Linked DNA regions of Homo sapiens: region 2 is linked to region 1. Evidence: promoter capture Hi-C in human tissues and cell types (Jung and others, 2019). All regions are on one chromosome and are shown on one strand. Each heading gives the region's core, a stretch centred on a gene start or on the middle of the fragment in contact. The rest is flanking DNA. Distances are from core to core; before and after follow the strand shown.

Region 1 (3,927 bases), core at 364-2,863:
ATGTTGGCTGGGGTGGTCTCATCATACTCCTGATCTCAAGTGATCCACCTGCTTCAGCCTCCCAAAGTGCTGGGATTCCAGGCGTGAGCCACTGCACCCGGCCTTACCTTACGTTTTAAAAGATCTCACAGATGTGATTAATGTAAGGATCTTGAGATGGTAAGATTATCCTGGATTATCTGGCTGAGCCCAATGTAATCCCAAGAGTCCTTATAAGAAGAGGGAAGCAGGAGGATCAGTCAGTAGTAGAGGTGACAACAGAAGCCAGAGGTTGAGGTGATTTGAAGAAGGGGCCATAAGCTAAGGAATGCAGGTGGCCTCTACAAACTGTAAAAGGAAAGGAACTGATGCTTCCTCCAAATCCCCAAAAGAATGCAGCCTTGCCAACACCTTGATTTTAGACTTTTGACCTAGAGAACTGCAAGAGAATATATCTGTGTTGTTTCAATCCATGAAGTTTGCAGTAATTCCTTGTAACAGTAACAGGAAAATAATACATAGATTTAGCAAACAAAACAAAATCCAGGATGCCCAGTAGTCATATTTGAATTTCCTATAAACAACAATTTTTAAAGTATAAATGTGTCCCAAATGTTGCATAGGACACACTTATCTGTGTGTATGTGTGTGTGTGTTTGGAAAGGAACATGCTTAAATGTTTATCTGAAATTCAAACTGTAGTGAATGTTATATATTTTGTCTGTCAATCTTAGAAGTGATGAAACTGAGAGCAGGAGTCAAAACTCATGATTCCCAGGTCGCCTCCATACTGCTGCCCCCTGCCCCTCAATCTGGCAGAAACTGCCACGTTCTTGTGGCCCTCATGGGTCACTTCCCATCTTCTTGGGACTCCTCTTGCCCCTGGGGTAGGAAAATGAAAAGACTGTTTAAGGTCGTTTCTTTAGGCTCAGAGTTCTCCTGGACCACCAGAGGTTCTGCCTCAGAGGGACCTAGGAGATTTGCCTCAAAGTTGCAGTTGCACAAAATACTTGCGGGCGGATCTTAATGGACTGGGGTGGGAGTTAGTAAAGCCTTTGTCTGGAGGGAACGTAATGAACCCCAAAGCAGGAAAAAAGTAATTATTGAATCAGGCTCCAGAGCAAGAATCAGGTTTCAGGTAAGGAAACGGAAGCACAAGAAGGAATGGGGACTTGCTCCAGGTCACTCAGTTAATGACAGACAGATGTCCCCTGGTTTGGAGTCTCCCTTTTTGGAGCAGCTAGTCCTGATAGCAGCCATAGTGGGGGGAAGTCTAGAATGCTAATCCTGAGGTCCGGGTTTGAAGCCCTTTACTGCCTTGATTGCCAGTTTCCCTTTCCTGAAATAGGGGAATTGCATAAATATGAGGAGTTAATGAGATCATGGATGTTAAACAACAGGTACATGTTAGCATGTTCTTGGAAAATGGCAGCTTCTTTCCTTCCTTCTCTGAGCCTCAGTTTCCCCATCTATAAGCCGGGTTTGACAAGCGGCTGGTGCCCCAGCTCCTCCCAGCCACTCCAGGTCCGCAGCTCGGAGCTCCGGCAGCCAGGTGGGGACTGAACACCAACGCCGCGGGGAGGCGTCGCACATGCGCGCTCCTAGGCGGAGCCCCGCCTCCCACGCCCTGGATCGTCACTTCCGGCGCGAGAGGCCGGGCAGGCCGGGCAGGGAGTGCGGGTCGGTTCTGCGTGCGCTGCCGGACGAGGCTCCCGCCGCCGATTGACCCGCGCTCCGCCCGTAGTCGGGCCGGTGAGTGCCCGCGAGCCCATCCGTGTGCCCTGGGAGCTGAGGAGAGGGACCCCTGAGAGGGAAGGATAACCGGAAGTGGGGACCAGAGGAGCGAGAGACCCCAGGAAATGGGGACACCTGGGGAGGGGGTGACAGCCGGAAGTGGGGGCCTCGGAAGGTTGTCCACGGGATATGGGGTCTCGGGGGCTCTAGGAGAGATGGCTTCCTGACCTCTCCTTGTTGAGAGGAAGGGGTGGAAAGGAAAGTGATGCTCCAGAAAGGATGGGCTCCAGGTGGGGGAGATCTTTGGCTTCACCGTTACCAATGGTGTCTGCATCTCACTCATATGTCCGCCTGTCAGCTCATTCACCAGCCTGTGACTGAGTCCTGCTGAGCGCTCGGCACTGCTGAGTCCCTGGAGAGTCAACATGAAGCTCCAGGTGGAGGGTACAGATTAGAAGCCCAGGGTGGGGCTAGACGCATCCTTGCTCTGCCTCACCGGGTGTGCCCCCTTGGGCGAATCGCTTAACCTATATCCTCCGCTGATGTGTACAGACCACTGCCATGTGCCCGGCACTGGGGGTGGCAGTGGACATGGCAGACAAGCCCTCTGCCCTCGTGGAACTTAGATTCTAGGGGACAGTCCTTTTTGTCCTCCTTTGTAAAATGGCAACAGTAATAGCGCTCTCACCAAATAACGTGAAGATTAAATGAGGAAATGGGTAAAGGGCTTAGCAATGCTTGATACATGGTAAAATGCTCAAGTATGCATTCTCTTCATTCCACTATAATGTAAGCTTTATTAGGCAAGGAATTGTATTGTTTGCGTCTGTGTTCCCAGTGCCTGTGAGCACAGTGCCTGACATATATGGTAGGTGATCGGTAATTATTTGATAAATGAGTGCGTGGTGAAACTGACTCTAGATAAATGCCCATAGCATTGGACTGTAATTTCTAAAAAAGAAATAGGAACCCAGTTCTGTGGAAAACTGGAGGGAATCACCCTCAGGGAGTTTGGGAAGGATTCACTGAGGTGGTGACATGGCAGCTGAGCCTGAGCTGTCAAGTTAGGAACAAATTAGAAGAGGAAATTCCAGGCAGAGTGTATCAGAAGTGCACGAGTTATTCCAAGGATGATGGGTTATTAGTTTGTTTTGACTGGCATTTAATGTGCATCAAGGTGGGGTGCGATGGAAAATGAGGCTGGAGAGGGGCTTTGAGGTGAGGCTTGTACCTTGTGAACACTGATGTTTGATGGGATTGCAGGCATCTCTTGGTTACTTCCATAGAAACAAAGCCATAGTTGTTCCATTCCTCACTTAGCATACCTGTGCCAACCAGACTAAAGTCATTCAACAAATATTTATGGAGTGCAGATTATGTGTCTAACACCATGTTAGGCGCTGGGTTTCAGGTGATGAACAAGACAAACTTGGATGTTGCTCACAAATTGCCAACAGACAATTGCAACAGGGTGGGAGAAGTGCGGGGGAGGCACCTAACCTGGCTGGGGGTCAGTGAAGGCTACCTACTCCAGGCCACCAGCATCTCTCAGCTGGATTATTGCAATAGCCTCTAAATGGTCTGCTTCAGTCCTCACTCCCTTAGAGTCCATTCTCAAGACAGCAGATTGGTCCTTTTAAAATATATTTTTATTTATTTATCTATCTATCTATTTATTTATTTATTTATTTATTTATCTGAGATAGCGTCTCGCCCTGTCGCCCAAGCTGGAGTGCAGTGACATGATCTCGGCTCACTGCAACCTCCGCTTCCTGGTTTCAAGCGATTATCCTGCTTCAACCTCCCAAGTAGCTGGCACTACAGGCCCGCACCACCATGCCTGGCTAATTTTTGTATTTTTAGTAGAGACAGGGTTTCACCATGTTGGCCAGGCTGGTCTCGAACTCCTGACCTCAGGTGATCCATCCACTTCAGCCTACCAAAGTGTTGGGATTACAGGCATAAGCCACCACACACAGCCCAAGAAAAAATTTAAAAATTAGCCAGGCGTGGTGTGTGCCTATAGTCCCAGCTACCTGGGAGGCTGAGGCAGGAGGATTGCTTGAACTTAGGAGTTCGAGGTTGCAGAGAGCTATGATTGCGCCACTGCACTTCAGCCTGGGTGACAGAGCAAGACCCTGTCTCTCTCTTAAACAAAAAAGTGCATGAGTTCAGGTCCTCTAAGAAGCAGACACTAGGATGAGGTTAGACGTG
Region 2 (3,927 bases), core at 582-3,081, 78 kb after region 1:
TAGATTTGTAAACAAATATTCATTTATTCTGTTGTATTCTACCACCACCACTTTGTTCCACAAAAGGTTATACAGCAGATTTTTATTTATTTAACCATTAAGAGTGTCTCCCCGTGTATTGGAATCGGCTAGGAAATATTCGTAATTGCTACACTTTTCTATATAAAAAGGGACTTGAAGCAGACTCAGGGCCAACACAATGTAGAATCTGTTTCTTCTAGCTTTATTTCTCCCTGTGCTGCTAGAGGTACCAAAGGGTTTGTCTCAACTGTTACTACCCCTGACATATTCCATTGATCTCTTTACTTTTCTCTGTTGTCTGTCAGTCTGTTTGTCAGACTTATCTCAAATGCCACGTTGTTTGCGCGTATTTCTCAAAGCCATCCATCAGGATACAATCTAAATCATCACAGCACATTCTGTCTTGTGACACTAAGCACAGACTGCCTGTGTTACATTTGATTGTGTGTTTCCCTTTTCTTCCACATATGTTTCAGTAGTAATTTCCTGGGCAACTTATGTGTGGCGGGCCTTGTTTGGGATCTTGGAAATAGAGAGATGAAGCTCTCCTACATAGTCTCATTTACTTCCAATTTTGCTTTCTTGATAATTGGAGTAGCCTTTTCTAGCTTGTATCCCCTGCAGTACCTGATGCATTGCCTTGCTCAGGGTAATTCATATATATTTCTGAATTCAGTTTGGAATGAAAGGAGACAAGCAGGCACTTTTGAATCAAATCTGGTGCTGCCACTATGCAACTGTATATAAATCTAACCCAACCCCTGTGCGCCAGGTTCCTTATCTGTAAAACATGGATAATAACAACCATCTTACAGGATTGTTGTAAAGTTTAAAGATGAATTGTATGAAGCCTAGCAGAGTTATTGGCACGTAGTAGGTGCTCATGAAGTAGTTGTTATTGTAAGGGAGGTTCAGTCATTCCTTTAGGTCACTTGAGTGGGCAGTGGAAGCATTTAGGATCTTAATTGTCTTTAGGGAAATGCTTACTTAGTCTGGGGGCTTCTCCGAGAAGCAGGCTCTGGGGAAGGTCTGGCTCATTGCTGATTAACTGTTCCCTTTTTAGAGTCAATGATCTGAGTCTGTGTTTTGGAACCACTTATATAATGTATACCACCTGTTATTTGTGTATTTTTAGAAGTGGGAGTCGGGTAATCCTAGTCCTGTCAGTAAAAGAGCAAACTGTTTACCAGAAGCAGAGCTTTTTTCTTAACACTGACTCACACTGACTCATCTTTCTCATTTTTCTTCCCACCGCCTCATAACAACCTTGCAAGAGAGAGAATTTTTAGGGAATCAGTTGACTTACTTTTTTGTGATTTTCCAAAGTTGAAAGCTTGAAGGTATCAGGTCATTAATTCCATCCCAGGAAAGGCTAAAGTTTATGCTGCCTCGGAGTGCCAGTATGACCAACGCCATGTAGTGAATATCTCACATAAACCCTTGTCTAGACAAACCACTTCTGTTGGCTGAGAGGTTAGACAAGTGCCTGAAGTGTACATGTTAAGAGTAAACACATTTTGCTCTTTGAAAATGGTTGCCTTAAGTTGAACCTGGAAAGTTTGCTCTTCTGAGATAGGAAACCCAAGCAGTATTAGAGTCAGAGCTGTGGTAGCTTCACAGATGGATTTCAGATAACAGAGAGGCCAGACAGCACATTAGATCAGCAAAATGGTGAAGGAAGCTTTATAGATCAGAATGACTGATATCTTTGTGCCTTCATTTAACATTCATTAAATGAACATTTACTGATCATCTGTGATATACTTGGTGCTAGGGTTATGACAGTGACTAATAAAAACATAGTGCCTGCTGTCATGGACCTTATACTCTAATGCTCGTTTATAGTAAATGCTAAGGGAACAGAGAGATGCCTTGGCCTGCATATGTGAACATGTTCCTGTGCACACGGGTGAGGGGAGGAAGGAAGGCTCCTTGGAGGAAAAGGCACCCAAGCTGAGTCTGGTGGGGTGAGTAGGCATTAACTAGGAGAAAAGGGTTAGTTAGGGGAATGTGGGGTTGGCTGAAGAGTATTACATGCTGAAATGAGCTATGAGTCTTGGGGTCGAGAGAAGAGCTTGCCCTTGGAGAAGCTGAAAAAAGTGACCAAAGGACAGTGAGAGGGAAGTTTGGCACAAAATAAATTCAGAGAAGCTAACAGTGACAGCAGAGCATTGTAGACCAGTTTATTAATTTAAAAAAAAATTTTTTTTTTTTTGAGACAGAATCTTGCTCTGTCGCCCAGGCTGGAGTGCTGTGATATGATCTCAATCTCAGTTCACTGCAACCTCTGCCTCGCAGGCTCAAGCAATTCTCGTGCCTCAGCCTTCCCAGTACCTGGGATTACAGGCACACACCACCATGCCTGGCTAATTTTTTTTTTGTATTTTTAGTAGAGACAGGGTTTCACCATGTTGGTCAGGCTGGTCTCGAACTCCGGCCTCAAGTGATTCACCCACCTCAGCCTCCCAAAGTGCTAGGATTATAAGTGTGAGCCACTGTGCAAGGCCTAAAAAATTTTTTAATCCAGATAAATTTAACATATAGTGAAATGCTCATGACAAATGCATATACCTATGTAACCAACACCCCATTTTGAGTAGGAACTTTTAACTTGGTAGTCAGAGCAAGGGGAAGGATGGGTTTTTGAGCAGGGTCCAGACTTGATGCTAATTGCTAGCTAAGAACTGGGACAAGGGTGAGGGGGTGAGGGGGTGGCAAGTACCAGTGGGGACAGAGCTGGAATAGGCAGTAGTTTGCTGGTGGGCAGGAGCTTCCAGCTTGGGGGCAAAAAACAGATTCTTGGTTTTCCTAACTTGTTTTTAGCAGAGGACAAACCTCTAAGTGCTTTGTAAGATCCAAAGTGTCTATGCAGAAGACAACAGACTGTGTTTTTTCAAAGATTTTCTGGGAAGACTTCCAGGCTACCTGCAGTTTGAAGAAAGTCTTCTGAAAAGGGCAGGGGGCGTGGGGGCACCTACAGAGACAGGATTTCCCCCAACTCGATAAGATACAGGAAAATAATCATCTTATTGATTTACTTTTGTTCTATAGTAATGTGACATTTTTTCTTTTCTGAGAGTAGGGTATTAAAAATTGTTACGGTTTTGGGTTTTACAGATTTGTTGAAGCTTAATATCATTTAAGTGTCCTATTTTAATATCTGTTTTAATATCTGTATTTTTGACAGACTGCCAGAAATCATTTAACATGTTACTGTGCTATTTTTGTTGATGTTGTCATTATTATTTTTGTTGATGTTATTCTTAAAGAAAAAAGAAAAGATACTATCGATAGAATTATCGTCAGTATTAGAAATTAAGAAATGTTTTAATTTCAATTGAAAACAAACAAGTAAACAAACATGAAAATGTATTGAGAGATGTGTGTATTCTCTACCTTTGTTTTATTCCTTTTACAAAAACTATAAGGAATAGTGCTTAACAGTGTACTGTCAAAACACTGACATCTATTTACAGGAAGTTCATTTCTGACCAGAATTGTTTGTTTGTCTCTCCAAAGCTTGCCAAATTCTATAGGTTTTATGTAAGTTTATAAATATTCTTGTAAACATTGGCTTTAAACTAAATCCTTCTAAATATCCAAACTACCATGTATCTTTCTGTGTCTAAATTCAGAGATACCATCCTGTTGGCTTTAGATAAGTTACAGAGTAGTTTAGGCCCACATGATTTAAGCTCACCCACAGTTCTTTGTTGATACTTGAGGATTTCATCTGAAAAGCATCCTGTTCATACTCTGAAAATATTTCTTTCATCTTAGTACTCCCACTCATTTTGTGTGTGTATATGTGTATAGATTATTTTATTGTTCCACATATATGTATATTTATTTTTTGTCCACTTGCTAGGGAACCTCATTTTTTTTAACAAGAAAATACTTGTGTGA

Evidence for each region. Contacts are between HindIII fragments. The study calls those that stand out against the background at their distance.
Region 2: a fragment that was not itself captured here is called in contact with the fragment with the promoter of TTPAL in region 1 in 2 of the 25 tissues and cell types used here (adrenal gland and bladder).

What each region holds. Positions count from the first base shown.
Region 1 is chr20:44,474,261-44,478,187 of GRCh38, forward strand. TTPAL (alpha tocopherol transfer protein like) reads left to right here and starts at 1,614. Exons shown (of 5, transcript NM_001039199.3): 1 at 1,614-1,731. RefSeq lists an enhancer at 1,410-1,499 and a silencer at 1,590-1,719. The HindIII fragment of the contact is 17,873 bases long and covers 1-3,927 here.
Region 2 is chr20:44,551,854-44,555,780 of GRCh38, forward strand. It overlaps a transcript of PKIG not described here. Among named protein-coding and RNA genes, the nearest start is that of PKIG, 29 kb to the right of the region's middle. The HindIII fragment of the contact is 3,026 bases long and covers 319-3,344 here.